5 separate regions of the Homo sapiens genome follow, and all the other regions are linked to region 2. The links are contacts of gene promoters, found by promoter capture Hi-C in blood cells and fetal thymus (Javierre and others, 2016). All regions are on one chromosome and are shown on one strand. Each heading gives the region's core, a stretch centred on a gene start or on the middle of the fragment in contact. The rest is flanking DNA. Distances are from core to core; before and after follow the strand shown. Region 1 has its middle 29 kb from the start of MTIF3. Region 2 holds the start of GSX1 (GS homeobox 1). Region 3 has its middle 25 kb from the start of GTF3A. Region 4 has its middle 6.8 kb from the start of MTIF3. Region 5 holds the start of GTF3A (general transcription factor IIIA).

Region 1 (3,108 bases), core at 124-2,623, 310 kb after region 2:
GAATTGCTTGAACCTGGGAGGTGGTGGTTGCAGTGACCCAAGGTCGTGCCACTGCACCCCAGCCAGGGCGACAGGGCAAGACTCTGTCTCAAAAACAAAACAAAACAGGAAACAAAAAGACAAGTTGGTGCAAAAGTAATTGCGGCTTTAATAGCAGAGGTATGACCATATTTTTACACTGTGTAGAGCAAGTCTTACAATCTACATTTAAATTTTGAGCAGCCATTCGATGACCTGCTATAAACCTACCAATATAATGTTTTAGAATAATACTTACTAATATACAATATATAACATAATGTTATTTTTTAAAGCAGAATTTAAAACTATACATATGTATGATCCCTTTGTATTACATTTACCTATCAAAAATAGGACCATCTGAGGAACTGGAAATAAATGTAAACATGAGGCTAAATGAGGTTTATGAGAGATAAACAGATTATCTCTCATCTGTTTATCTCTCGTTGTCAGGTATGGGTGGGTTTATTTTGTCCTACTCCGTTTGCCCCAGGTAGCCTTTTTTTCTATCATGACTACAACTTCAATGCTGAGGGAGCCCCCAAATGCCCCAAGTTATCTTCACAGTTGAGGGTGGAGGTGTGGGTGGGAGGAGGCCTCCCTCCTGTTTCATTTCTTTAATTCCTGCCTTGGCTCATAAAATAGGATCTTCTATGTACATTTGTACCACTCAGGGAAATATAAAGGGAGCTTTGGATGCCTCACCTCTTTTTTCACTCCTTGTCCTAATCTGTTTTCTGTTGCTTATAACAGAATACCTGAAGCTGGGTAATTTATAAAGAAAAAAAATTTCTTTTTTACAGTCATGAAGGTTTAGAAGGTCAAGGTCGAGGGGCTGCATCTGGTGAGGGCCTTCCTGCTGGTGGGGATTCTCTGCAGAATCCCCAGGCAGTGCAGGGCATCACATGTGAGGGGCTGAGCAAGCTCACATGCTAGTTCAGGTCTCTCTTCCACTTCCTGTAAAGCAGTCAGTCCTATTATCATAACTCATTAATTCACTAGTCCACGAATAGATTAATCCATTCATGAGGGTAGAGCCCTCTCATGATCCAGTCATCTCGTGAAGGCCCCACCTCTCAATACTGCCCCTTTGAGGATTAAATTTCAACATGAATTTTGGATGGGATGGACATTCAAAGCATAGCAGTCCCCTACAAGGGAGAGATAGTAATCTAATTAGCAAGACCTTCTGTCTATTGGACCACAGTGGCAGAGGTAAGATCACTGTGCCCAAAAAGCAACTCCAGCCCCAGCCCTCCTCTCCTATTCCTTGGGTCTATATGCTCTTGGGGACGCCCCTCCTGAGTTAGAGGATTTCCCCTTCCTGCTTCTCGGCCTGCTGACATTCAGGACTTTCAGTTGGTGACTTTGGGAAAGGGAGAAGAAAGCCCCTACCTTGCCCAGGGGCAGACTAGTTTTCATATGAGCTTCAGTTATAAAGCTGATCCTCTCTGGCCCCTGAAGTTGTTCTCAGTTTGGTGGAACTTGGAAGCAAGGGCTGAGAGGGACTGCCATTCTGAAACTTCAGTTCCCTCATTTATGAAAATGACTACGAGGTCGTTTTTAACTAATGTAATATTTTCATCTTTGTGATCTGGCACAAAGATGATATAGACTAGGAAAAAATTACCTGGCATGATTCAAGTGCATCCTGCTAACAGGCAGGGGAGTAGGGTGGGAGGGAAAGGGACAAGCTGGCAGCTCCCAGGCTCTTTGACCCAATGATAGGTGGTGTCCAGTCTGTAGCTTCCCTGCCCTCAGACCTGTTACTCCTCCTTCCCCTGCCCTGCTTGGTATCACAGTGGGATTCAGGGGCAGCTGCTGCCAGCTGGGTTTGGCATGGGAGGTGCTGGTAGAAGACGAGAGGAAGGAAGGGAGAAACCAGGACATTCCTTCCCTCCCTCTGTGGTTTCTTTAGCCGTGGGTTTACCAGAAACGATCAGTCCAAGTGCATGGAGTGGCTTCCTGCTGGTACTAATCTCTCAGTGGCTTCATGGTCCCTGTTGGCCTCTTAGCTCTTCCTTCATTTATGAAGCCAATTCTTAAATTTATTTTCCTCATTTTAAATATTTGGAGATATTTTCATTTTCCTGGTTGGACCTTGACTGCTAATATCTGCTATGATCTGAATGTGTCCCTCAAAATCCATATGTTGGAAACTTAATCTCGATGCAACAGTGTTGGGAGGTGTTTGGGTCACAAGGGCTCTGCTCTTTTGAATAGATTAATACTGTTTTAAAAGGGCTTGACAGCAGAAGTTGGATTCTTTTTCACTCTTCCGTCTTCTGCCACGTGAGGACTCAGCAAGAAGGCCCTTGCCAGATGACAGTGTCTTGATCTTGGACTACTCAGCCTCCAGAGCTGTGAGAAAAAAGTTTATGTTCTTAAGTATTCTGGTATAGCAGCACAAAATAGACTAAGACAGTATTAGTTTGATTATGGCCTTAAAGCCTGGGCATGGAGGTATTCCATCTGCTGGATTGAGGGCTGCTCAGGGCTGAGTGTCAGAACTAGGAGATGGCAGAAGAAGAGGCTGTGTGTATGTGTGTGTCCCAGATAAACACCAGTAAGAAAGCCATGGCATTGGTAAGATCATCCTGCATGGCCAAGCTCCTCTCCTCTTCCATGTCACCACTCTATCTTTCCCTCAACCTGGAATATTAATGTCATGTTCTATTTCTCCAATGCCTTGCTCTAAGCTAGCTGTTAATTAATTCCTCTGAAAAATTTGCCTGATGACTACTTAAGAATTAATCAGTTTCCAGGGTATTTTTATAGAGGAAAAAACATTAAAAGATTTTATTTTATAGAAGAAACAAAATAAAAGGTTACTCTTGTAACCTTTTTTGATTACAAGAGTAATATAGGCTTCTATAGACATTTTGAAAGAAAAAATAAAAAATAAACTAAAAACCAATGATAATCCCAGCCACTCAGAAGAAGCTTTCTTAACATTATGATGTATCAGTATGAAGTCTTTTTTTAAATTGCATATATGCACAAGCCTGTGTGTGTGTTTGTGGGTGTGTCAGGGTTGGTTGTATTCATAGCTAAGATTATATCATATATGGTTCTGTACCCTGTTTT
Region 2 (3,150 bases), core at 550-3,049:
GGCTAGGAGGCGCCGGCTGCCAGCAAGGCGCTGCGCCAAGCAGGCTTGCGGGCGGGGGCCGCGGTGCTGCACTGCCCAGGAGGACTCGAGCGCTTACAGTGTTCACAGCTTGGAGTTGGCTTTGGACACGAGCGAGCCCTGGGGCGGGGACGCCATGGTCCAGTCTCTGCCAAGCTCTCAGCCCTGCCCAGGCCCGGGACCTCTGCAAAGCAGTGCCAAATCCATGCCAGGCAGTGGTTTGGCTGCGGGTGCCTGGGAATCAGCGCTGAGTCCCAGGACTAGTCTCCGAGGCGCAGGGAGGTCTTGGGGTGGGCGACCTAGGGAGACACGCGCCTAGGGAGTGACCGTAAGATCCCGGTCGTCCTTCCCTGAGGAGGACGGAGACATGGGCAATTCGTCGTCATCCTCGGAGCACTTGGCTGAGGAGAGCGATGCGCACTTGCAGCCTTGCGGTGCGCTCCCGCCACCACCGGCACCCCCGCCGCCGCCGCCACGATGGTTGCTGCCCTTGCCCTCCTTCTTGTGCTTCACTCGGCGGTTCTGAAACCAGATCTTCACCTGCTTCTCGGACAGATTCAGGTAGGTCGCGATCTCGATGCGACGTAGGCGGGACAGGTACATATTAGAAGCGAACTCGCGCTCCAGCTCTAGCAGCTGCGTGCTGGTGAAAGCCGTGCGCATCCTCTTGCTGCTGGGCAGCTGGTTAGAGCTGCTGTCTGGAGGTGGCAGAGCAGAGAAGGAAGCGATCAGACCTCTGTGCTGTGGACCCAATCCCTTGGTAGGCGGTCGCCAGAATCCTACGACTTTGACCTCTTACCCATCTCTTCGCCCCAACACAATCCACAGCAGAGCTACAGTGAGCGCTCCTTGTCCAGCTCCGAGATCCTGATTCTCCCGGAGTCATGCAGCCCTGGAACCCCTTCCCCTTCATGGAGAGCCTTGGATCCCAGCCCTCACTTACCCCGGCCCACACTCCAGGACCTGGACGTCTGCCCTCATCCGCCTCCTGGCGTTGTGTCCCGGCCCTCTATCCTCACTCCACCCCAAGCGCCCCCCTTAGTCCCCGACATGACCCTCACCGCCCCCAGAAAGCCCAGGGTCCCTCTTCCTCCATCTCTGGCTCTCCATCCTGCTTCGGATCACCTCTGCCCGGTCCCTCTGCGCGGCGGCCCCGCTTACCCACAGAGATGCAGTGGAACTGCCTGGGGTCAGGCAGCGGGTAGGAGGTCTGGTAGAGCGCGGCGGCAGCAGCAGCGGCGGCCGGGCCGTGAGCGACCCCGGGCGACACAGCAGAGTGCTGGCGGCCCAGGGGCGCGTGGCAGTACTGCGAGCCGAAGGGTGGGAAGGAAGCCTTGAGTAGAGGCAGCGCGGGCGGCCCGGGGGGCCCATGCAGCTGCGAGGCGGTGACGCAGAGCGGGCACACGCACAGCAGCCCAGCCTTGCGCGCGTGGCAGGCGCCAGGCGAGAGACCGTGCAGCGCGTGCGGCGGGGGCACAGCGTAGGGGAAGAGCGGCGGCGGGCTGCCCTCGGGCGCCTTCTTCTCGCCCGCCTCGCGCAGCACTAGCGAGTCCACCAGGAAGGAGCGCGGCATGGCCCCGGCGCGCGGTCGCCCCGCAGCCAGCCCGCCCTCTGCGCCCACCGCACCTTTCGGCTCTCCACGCGCTTTCCCTGGCCGCGGTATCCCGCAGCTGCCTCTGCCCAGGAGGCTGAACGCGCGGCTGAGACCTAGGCTGAAACAGTAGCCTCTGCTGCCGTGGGCACCGCCCAAAGAGCGCGGGGTGCTGGCCAGCGCTAGTGGTGCTGAAAGGCGCCGGCGGCGCGGCTTAAATAGGACTATTGCCATGTGATGGACTACGCCAGGAGCGGCCGGGGCCTCTCAATAGGGTTTTTGTGCCTTTTCTCTTGGCATTCACTCTGCACGCTTCCTCATTATTTCACTTGTTAACTAAATGAACTGCATAATGTACTCTATTCTTGTCAACCCCACCCACGCCGTAACAGGCGCCCTCGCCCCCTCCTCTCCCTTTTGCGGGTTTATTTTCTCATTCTCCCGCGATTTAATATTCTTTCCTTTCTCTTTATTTCTTACTCCCCTTTGGCTTTGCATTGGCCATCAGCCCGTTCACCTTACTGATTTTGCACCCCCGCGGCCTCTCTTCTACAGATCCCCATGGGCGCACACCCTCATATCCTCTGTCCACTTGGTCCTGGTCCCCTTCTTTCTATTATCGCCCTTACACCCCAAAAGTATGCTGTCTCCAGTCAGCCCTGTCAGCTCAGTGCCGTGCACCCCCGAACCTCCCTCCAGCCGGTCTCAGATTTTCCACCTGTGGAATCGCTTCTCTCTCTGCGTCGGAAGAAGGAGGACCGGGTTCCCGCGTGAAGGAGGCGTCTGTGGGGAGGGAGGAGAAGGGCTCATTATTCCTTATCCAGCCCTAGACCCATCGCTGTCCCTCGGTTTTCTCTAAGTTTCTCAAATAGTCTTAATTTTGGTGCTGCCTACGACGCCCAGTCTTTGTTCGGTAGATGCTGGCCAACCAGCCCTTTCCTTCAAATGACAGGGCCGTGGATGTAAAAGAGGAAAAACAGTCTCTGAGCGTTACGAACAGAGACAGGGAATGGGGAATGAAAGCCGAGATGGCGCAGATCTAGATCTCGCACCCCAGCACATGTGGCGAGTGCGGACTGTCTGCCCGCGCATCTTGCCCACACCCTGTCTACTGGAGCACACTTCCAGCAGTGCGCTGGGAAACCGCTGCCATCTCTTAGTTTGGAACGGCGCGAAGGGCGGTTGTATTCCTGGCATCGGCTGCCTTTGCCCACCCTGACCCGCCTCCGCTCTCCCCAAGACCCGGCTTCTTCTTCCTGCCGCGTCACTCTTCTTTCTGGTCACACAATGGTTAAACAACTTCAAACGCTCAGAGCTGTGTACACAGCTCCAGCTTTTTAAATCGTTCTCGGGCTCAAAGCTGTTTCGCCCAGGAGCTTTTTCCATACAATGGGAAATCAGCATAAACATTTCTAATTTACAGCCCGGGACTTTTCACAGGAGACGTTTACTTTCGATTTTATTGGAACCAAATCGCTGCAGTCACCTGCTCTGAGCCCTGAATGGAATTGTGAGAAATGGAGGGGGAAGCTTAGGGGTCT
Region 3 (2,719 bases), core at 169-2,668, 390 kb after region 2:
ATAAAACTCTGCCCTGGGGTATGTCCTGAGAAACAAGGTGTTGGCTTTGAAAGCTTTTCATTTTCTCTCCCTTAAAAACTTAACCAGAAACTTTAGTTATAAGCAGATCATAAAACTCAAATTCCAATACCAAAGGACATTTCCAAGGACATGTATACATGATTTATACATTTTATGATACCGATCCAATGACTAAAAATGCTTTTTTCCTCCATGCTAGTAACTGTATGAGTCCTTTTATTGGCCAAATGTGGATTTTTAAAGTTTTTTTTTTTTCATGCTTTTTTTTTTTTGAGACAGGGTCTCGCTCTGTCGTCCAGGCTGGAGTGCAGTGGCTTGATCTTGGCTCACTGCAACCTCCGCCTCCTGGGTTCAAGCAATTCTCCTGCCTCCCCGGTGGCTGGAATTACAGGTATCCACCACCACACTGTGTCCAGAGTTGGAGTTTCTTCCTTCTGGTGGGCTCCTGGTATTGCTGACTTCAAGAATGAAGCTGCAGACGCAGCGAGTGTTACAGATCTTAAAGGTGGCAGGGACCCAAAGAGTGAGCAGCAGCAAGATTTATTGTGAAAAGCCAAAAAACAAAGCTTCCAAAGCATCAAAAGGGACCGGAGCAGGTTGCCGCGGCTGGCGGGGAGGGGAGTGGCCAGCTTTTATGCTCTTATTTGTCCCTGCCCACATCCTGCTGATTGGTCCATTTTACAGAGTGTTGATTGGTTTATTTTACAAACCTCTAGCTAGCCAAAGAGCACTGATTGGTGCGTTTTTACAGAGCACTGATTGGTGCATTTTACAAACCTCTAGGTAGCTACAGAGCAGTGATTAGTGTGTTTTACAATCCTGCCTATGCTGATTGGTGCATTTTACAATCCTCTTGTAAGACGGAAAAGTTCTCCAAGTCCCCACTCAACCCAGGAAGTCCAGCTATCTTCACCTCTCAACACCTGGGTAAGTTTTGTATTTTTAGTAGAGTCGGGGTTTCACCATATTGGCCAGGCTGGTCCTGAACTCCTGACCTCAGGTGATCCACCCGCCTCAGCCTCCCAAAATGCTGGGATTACAGGCATGAGCCACTGTGCCTGGCCCATGTTATCTGATTTTTAATGACAGCGGATCTGAATTTCTTTCAAAAAGGATCCATTCATTTAGAAATAAGACAAAAACATTCCTTCCATCTTTTGCTTCCACTTTTTTGTTGGAATGAGTGAGGGTGCTGGAGGTGGACGGGCCCTGTTTCCTTGCCCTGCTTCCATTAAGGGCTGTTTCTGACCTGTTCCAGGTTCCAATTCCTACCCCAGGTTATTTCAGTAAGGAAATAAAGACTTTGAAAATATTCTTTTCTCAGAGGAGCTCTCATCTGGGATCTCCTTGAGATAAAAATGCCTATATAAATTTGGAAGCCATCTTGAAGTTTTGAGTGCTAAAAATCTGCCCTTTGGAAAATGCTACAGAAAAAATATATTTAAATAAGCACCATCTATTCAATAATATTTAATAATAAGTTGAACAACAACAAACCAACAAACAATTCTTGACTTAAGAAGCCCGAACAAAGTGGGCAGAGGCCTAACTTCCTTTCTTTAAGTCAGGGGAAACGGCAACCTTTTGAGATCCACCAGTTTGGTTTCCAAGAGGGACCTACCTGGAGAAGGAAGAATGAAGACAGCATTGGCAGGAATGGAACTGTTACTCACAGTCTGAATAACATCGACACTGATAGCCTTTGTGTACTTCCAAATAGACTCGTGTCTTTGTGCCCAGATGGTGCCTTGACACAACTGCTTTAAGGAAAAGGTCTTTTAACAGGAAATGCATTTTGGTTTTTGAAATGCTTCTGCATTTCTTGCCGGCTGGGCTTCATTGATGAGTTTTAAATGTTCCTTTGTTTCTAGTAAACCTAGCTCTCAACTTGACCCATTTTGGTAGTGACCAGGGTGCAGGGAGCAATGGACTGATGGATTTTGAGATTTGCCTACACCTCCCAGTGGCTCACTGAATCCTGCTTTCTGGGGTCTGCTTCCTCGGCACCTCCCTACCCATGTGTGTTTTATGGGTATCCTAACAGAACAGTCACTTCTCCCCTGTTTCTGGGGAGGCTGTGAGCCCAGTAAGACAAGACAGGTGAGCATACTTTATCGGGAATATGCTTCAGTCCTTCATCCCTGCACCAGCCCAGGTGGCGGCAGAGTTCTCCAATGGGCCAAGAATATAAAACTGGTTATTTGAACAAGACTCTTTTACAAGCTTAGGCAGGTGTCTCCTGTTGGGCCACAATGAGTACATTTGTCTTAAAAACTGGAAGTCCTGAGACTAGTGGATGAGGAGGATGAGACGTGACCCCTTCCTGGACCCCCTTCCTGAATAAAATGACAGCTCTCGTAGCAGCATTTTGAGGAGACTACCTGTGAATCTAGAATATCATTCATTCAACAAGTTACTGACTAAATAGTGCTTAACCTAAAGTGGAAAATGATTCTCTGAATGTATGCCAAAAATACATATGGGCAAGTGACTAAAATAGTTGAAATAAAAATCTTGTTTAAATAGTCCCATCTATATTTTGGCCAAATTTCAATATCTGAGGATAAAGTTATATGTTATAGCAACACCAGCCTAAATTAATAAAAACACAGGAAAAAACTTTAACAGAAACTGGACATTTCTGTCACATTTGCCCAATCCAGAAATGTGGGGCAATGTAGCTGAGATGTCACCTACA
Region 4 (2,923 bases), core at 328-2,827, 340 kb after region 2:
TCCACCTAGGAGTTATCTACAGACAGAAAACAAAGACCAGTAGACCCCACTGAAACTGGAATTAGAAAGGTAGAAAGGAAGTCTCCTTCCCCGATTTCTCATGAGGCCCCTCTTTGTGCATGGTTCTTTGTCCATGTCTATTTCATTCTCCTCTCTGCGGACCAACTCATCTGCTTGAAGAACTCCAGCACGCACAAGGCATTGGCTTGTATCGTGAAAGAAACAACTTTATAAGACTTTTTAGTTCAAGTACTATGTTGGTTAGGAGTAAGTTCAACTGCAGTATAAGAGCGTGTTTCTCTCTCACATTCAAGAAATTCAGAGGTAATGAGCCTCTGGCTGGTGTGATGTGCCATGGTGTGAGCCCCCAGGCGCCTTCCATCTCTCTGCACTCCTGTGCAGGATTTCCATTCCATGATCCCTTATAAAAAGCAAATTCAAAGACCATGATGGGATGCTCCAGGATGACTTCGAAGCTCCGCTGTTGCGTCTGCTTTCCAGCCAGCAGAAAGGAGGAAGAGGGGAAGAGGACTCCCTGGAAGCTGCACATACCATGCCTGTTTATTTAAGGTGACCATATAATATGTCATCTAAACTGAAATCCTTGTGTGGATAACAGGCATAAAGTAGGATTTACCATTATCTGCCTCATATAAATTGCTGGCCAGAGCTTGGTCCCATGATCACACCTTTCTGTAAGAAAGGCTGAACATACTGTTTTTATTCTGGGCAGCCATGTGTGCATAAAACCTGGGAAAGAGGAAGATGGCTATTGGACTAGGATCTCTGCCACAAGTACCCTTTGACACCCCCCCAAGCCCTCTGACAACACTAATTTCCCAGAGCAAATTCGCAAGCTGTCATAGTCTGTGAACTAGTTTCCTATAGGCCAGGCTTCTATCCCAGTCTCATCACAATGTACAAGAGGAGGAGGTGGGACACAGGACATTTAGGTGCAAGGTGCCCCTTTCAGAGGCTGTGTGCAGGAACAGAGACTCTTAGAAAAAGGCCTGAGTGTTGTAGTGAAATTGACTTGTTTCACTACAACAGCTAAAGATCTGTTGCAGACAGCAATCAATACTAGAGTGGAAAATCACAATCCAATAGGGCAGGCAGGCCGTGGAAAACCACCAAAGTTTTGTTTTTTGTTTTTTTTTTCAAGGAGATAGTATGCATGAAGCTTTACTAAGACAAAGTTATCCTGGCAGTGGCGTGGGGGCTGATTTGGATCAAGGCAAGATGGAAAGCTGGAAGACTCTTTGGGCAATACCTGTATCAGGCCAGGTGAGACTGAATTTGACTTTGAGTAGAACGTTAGAAGGGGAGGAGAACTATTAAAACTGGGTAGGCAGTTATAGCAACAAGAAGGGCCAGATGACAGCCTAATGGCAAGGGAGGGGTAGGAAAATCTATAAAAAGCAGAATTTCAAATTCAGAAACCATGATGGTTTGGCCATGTAGTTAGTGGCACTTAATACACGTATGAAGTGTTGTATGTCACCATATCATAATGTACAATCATGATACTCCCAGTTCTTTTTTTTTTTTTTTTTTTTGAGATGGAGTTTCGCTCTGTTGCCCAGGCTGGAGTGCAGTGGCACAATCTCGGCTCACCGCAACCTCCGCCTCCCAGGTTCATGCCATTCTCCTGCCTCAGCCTCCTGAGTAGCTGGGGCTACAGGCATGCGCCACCAGGTCTGGCTAATTTTTTGGTATTTTTAGTAGAGATGGGGTTTCACCATGTTGGTCAGGCTGGGCTTGAACTTCTGACCTCAAATGATCTGCCTGCCTCGGCCTCTCAAATTGCTGGGATTACAGGCATTGAGCCATCATGCCTGGACTGATACTCCTAGTTCTTAAAAAATATCATACCATACTTCAGAAAGCAAGAATGTTTGTAATACATTATATAAAATACTTTCATTCATAATGGTAAAAATATAGAAGTTTGTATTGATTTGAGAGGTAAGCTTAGGGTATCTGGAAGATTGCCTTATATAAAACATCTTATTTCCCAAATAATACTTAAATGAGTCCTCACCATACCTGAAACAAACACATTTTCAAATGCAGATTATAGTTCAGCACTTAGATGTGTAGATTACATTTTCCTTGCTGACCGTCAGGTAGAAACATGGCTCTGAAAACCCAAGTTCAGCATTTGAAAATCTCAGCTAAATAAATGATTAAACTCATTCAAAAGCTAAGCCTCGTATTTATCAGAGAAATGCAGCTGAAAAACACATAAGGCCTTAGTATGATGCGCGACACTGAGTATCAGTCCTAGGTAATCATACATTTCCAGTTGAAGCGCTAGAATTTACATGACTCTCTTTTGAAAGCCCAATTTCCGTAACAGTTCAGTTCTTGAACAGAAACTGCAGAGTAACAGAATTTTAAGAGCGGGCATAAAGGACATACGCAGAAATCTATGGCTATCTTTCTTTGCTTACATAGAAATGCAATAAACAACTAGTCCTGCCCAGTATTATGTTCTAAATTTGAAGAAATGCACCTACAGAGAAGGCCGCTTTGATAATTTTGAATAACTGGGAAAAGTTTACTAGGATGGCCGAGAGAAAAATTCACACAAAGAATCTTCTAGAAGTTGGAGCTCTGCATCTGACTGCTGGAGCGTTCCTCCATTTCCAATAGAGGTTTTTTTTTCACAGATTATTTTTGACTTAGCCAAGCAGGGAGCCTATTTCAAAGCTCCCAATTTGGAAATCATGGAAGCTTTATGAAGTTTTCCACCTGCATCTCTTTTTAGGAACACAGTTCTTTATTCTCTAAGGGATGAAAACCTTTAGCATATAAAAACTTTGTTAAGCTGTCACTATCAATAGGGGGAAAAAAATAACAGTGGACAAAGAAGAAACAAATTGCATCTTCGAATAAGTTTTCTTGAAGCTCTTGTTAAAAG
Region 5 (2,945 bases), core at 446-2,945, 370 kb after region 2:
ACAGCGGCAGGCGTGGAGTAGGCTCAATAAACATTTGTCAAATTAATCTGCATGAGAGATCTGGGACAACAAAGATGACTCCAAGTTTTTCAACCTGTATTAAGGAAACTGGTAGCGCCAGTATCCAAAATACAGCACACCGGTCTAAAAGGAAAGGCAAGCTCTTACGTGGATCTACTGGTAATACAGAGCCCAGAATTTAGAGGCTAGAACGGGCAAGAGGAAGGGCAGAGGGGCAAAGCATAAAGGATGTTATGAGTCATGCCGGTGGCTATGTAAGACCGCAAGAGGGAGCTGGGCGGGGTGGAACATGCAGAGGGCAGAAGAGGATCCAACGAAAAGGGCAGACGAGGAAGAGGAAAAGAACCAGAGAAGGTCTCAAGGAAGAAGCGGTCGGCCTTCCAGTGCTGGAGAGGTTAAGGAATGAGGCCCCGGAGGACACCTGGAGAAGGTGGCCCATAAATTAGAGGAGGTGCAAGGGGCAAAGGTATGGACTGCAGCCCAGTGGTTTAAGAAATTAAGGGCTTTAAGCTGAGGCAGTGTGAAGCCTAGCTCTGCCAAAAACTGGGAAGCTGGGCAGATTCCTTGACCTCCATGACCCTCGTTTTCCTCACTTGTGTGTGACATGGGCTGCCACGTCATATCATGGTATCTGACATTCTCCTGCCCTCAAAATAAAATCCAAACTCCTAATGGGCCTACTTCTCAGACCTCATATGGTGATCTCCGCACCCAAACACACCCACCTGCCTCCCACCCCAAGGGTCACAGGCTCCCTTTGTGTTCTCTCTACCTAGCACAAATGTCTGCATGGCTAGATCCTTCCTTCTTACACGGCTCACACAGAGAGGCCTTTCCTGACCACAACACTGCATGTCATTCCCACCTATCCTGTGGTCGGCTCGACCCAGGAACAAAGGTCCATGGCAGCAGAAACCTTGGGTTTGCCTGTTTTGCTCACTGCTCTCTCCAGTGTGGAGTTACGAAGAAATGAGCACATGCTGCTTTCACGACCCCTGGTACATGTAACCCATCTTCTGTACCAGCTCCAGGGGCCAGTGTTTGGCAGGTGTCTAGTAGCGGTGGGCCCCCTCAAACCTCACACTTATTTGCAGATTACGGGAGGCACTTGGCTGGCCGAGACTCACGATCAATGACTGCTTAGTAAATCCCGAGCCCCTGCCATGGATATCAAGGTCGCAGAACGAAGGTCCTACAACTTCCTGTCTACTTCCTCAGCTCCTTCCCCAAGTCCTGGATGTCAAAGCTGAACGCGCTGCACAGCGGGGCCTGCGGCCCTGGCCACGACTGCAGTGGCTACCCCGGGGCCACGCGCCATCCCTAGGCCCAGGGTTGGCAGCCTCGCCCCCCTCACCTCCCCCGTGTGCTTGCACAGGTGCGCGTCAAGCTTCCAGGCTTTGCTGTAATTGGCGCTGCAGTCAGGGAAGGAGCAGATGAACCTCCTGGGAAGCGCGGGGCGCGGCGGGGTCGGAGCTGAGCTCTCGCCGGCTGCAATGAACGCGTCGGCGATGGTCAAGGACGACACCGACTCGGCGACCACGGCCGGCGGATCCAGGGCGCCGGCGCCTCCAAGCCCAGGGCCAGGCGCGCTGCCACGTGCCGAGACACGTGCCGGGAACCGGCGCGCCCGGCCCACGGCTCCCTGCTGAACCTTCGCGCGACGCCGGCACACTTCCGGGAGCGCGCGCGGTCACCAGGCACCGCCCCGCGTCGGCGCCGCTGCTGCGCATGCTCCGGGAGATCGCGCATGCGCCAGGAGGCCCCGCCGCGGCTCGCGGCCCGTGCCCTGTCAGCCCTGGATGAGAGGCGGGGGTTTCTGCGTCCTCGGCAGAAGGCTGCTGCGTTTCACAGGCAACTCAAATCCCGAGGCACTGCTTAAATGGGGCTTGTTTCCCGTCCTCCAGTACACTCTGGAAAGCACTAGCCTTACATAATTTAAGTTAGCCTGTTGCCACATTACTAGTGTGACCTGTGTGGTTTCGTTTCTTTGCGTGCTTTACGTGCTTCTGCTGCAAGCCCCAGTTCAGAGGTTCCTAAGCTCAGATTCACGTGGAGAGCTTTACAAAATCCCGAAGCCTAGAGGATACTTGGACCACTTAAATCACAATTTCTGGGGGTAGGAAACAGGCATCAGTATTTTTGGAAACTTCCTAGGTGATTTCAATGCGCAGAAAAGTTTGGGAACCACTATCCTGGCACAGTAGTGCGCACCTGTAGTCCCAGGTACGCGGGCGAATCGCTTGAGCCCAGAGTGAGACCCCGAGCTCTAAAAGAATAAATACAGATGTCTCCCCATCCTACCCTTCCCCACCCCGGCAAACTGACCAGGTGGTTGGAAAAAAAAAAAAAAAAAAAGGAAAAGTTTGGGAACACTGCCCTAGAGCCTTGATGACCTACTTGAAACAAATCTCCAGGTGATTCAGTGCATATCAAAACCTGAGAAGCACTTTTGAGAGGCCTGAATGAATATGAGTATCTTAGTTTATGAGGACCACATGCCTAAAAAATGTCCTTGGATACAGATAACTGGCAGGATGACTTGGGGGATGTTCGCCAGATCCATATTTTTCACATCCTGCATTATTCCGAATCATTAAGCCCTTGTCGGAATGTGATGAACAGGTCCCTGCACAGCAGTGCAGTTCTGGAAACAAGCCAGGGCTTAACATCAGTGCTTATGAACTGAGTATTCCAGTTCATAAACACTCCTTTGCCTCAGTCTGCTCATCTTGAAAGTGGGAAAGTTGATAACGCCTGTGTCATCCTCCGTCTCAAGATAACGGGGCTGTGAGAGTGTCTATGCCTTGGGTCCACCTGTTGCTTTCTTCATTTGCCACTCTAGCCCCTGTCCATGGATGGGAGAATTCTACACTCATCCCTCCCACAACTCCGGAATTCTAAAATGGTTTCTCTTGCGCCAGTTC

The links. The method cuts DNA at HindIII sites, captures the fragments that hold promoters and counts their contacts. A CHiCAGO score of 5 or more calls a contact.
Region 1: a contact is called between a fragment that was not itself captured here and the fragment with the promoter of GSX1 in region 2, in 1 of 17 cell types (erythroblasts). The highest score is 5.8, in erythroblasts.
Region 3: a contact is called between a fragment that was not itself captured here and the fragment with the promoter of GSX1 in region 2, in 1 of 17 cell types (naive B cells). The highest score is 5.6, in naive B cells.
Region 4: a fragment that was not itself captured here is called in contact with the fragment with the promoter of GSX1 in region 2 in 1 of 17 cell types (endothelial precursors); the score reaches 5.0 in endothelial precursors.
Region 5: the fragment with the promoter of GTF3A here is called in contact with the fragment with the promoter of GSX1 in region 2 in 3 of 17 cell types (naive CD4 T cells, total B cells and fetal thymus); the score reaches 5.9 in naive CD4 T cells.

Annotation. Positions count from the first base shown.
Region 1 is chr13:27,478,457-27,481,564 of GRCh38, reverse strand. No RefSeq gene overlaps it. Among named protein-coding and RNA genes, the nearest start is that of MTIF3, 29 kb to the right of the region's middle. The HindIII fragment of the contact is 3,186 bases long and covers 1-2,966 here.
Region 2 is chr13:27,791,132-27,794,281 of GRCh38, reverse strand. It overlaps GSX1 (GS homeobox 1), which reads right to left and starts at 1,799. Exons shown (of 2, transcript NM_145657.3): 1 at 1,180-1,799; 2 at 1-716. The coding sequence starts at 1,591. The coding sequence ends at 334. RefSeq lists an enhancer at 1,069-1,872. The HindIII fragment of the contact is 6,142 bases long and covers 1-3,141 here.
Region 3 is chr13:27,398,597-27,401,315 of GRCh38, reverse strand. No RefSeq gene overlaps it. Among named protein-coding and RNA genes, the nearest start is that of GTF3A, 25 kb to the left of the region's middle. The HindIII fragment of the contact is 1,657 bases long and covers 590-2,246 here.
Region 4 is chr13:27,455,941-27,458,863 of GRCh38, reverse strand. No RefSeq gene overlaps it. Among named protein-coding and RNA genes, the nearest start is that of MTIF3, 6.8 kb to the right of the region's middle. The HindIII fragment of the contact is 790 bases long and covers 1,183-1,972 here.
Region 5 is chr13:27,423,369-27,426,313 of GRCh38, reverse strand. It overlaps GTF3A (general transcription factor IIIA), which reads right to left and starts at 1,695. Exons shown (of 9, transcript NM_002097.3): 1 at 1,376-1,695. The coding sequence starts at 1,576. RefSeq lists enhancers at 21-240, 1,191-1,260 and silencers at 1,351-1,430, 1,531-1,590, 1,601-1,870. The HindIII fragment of the contact is 2,756 bases long and covers 1,411-2,945 here.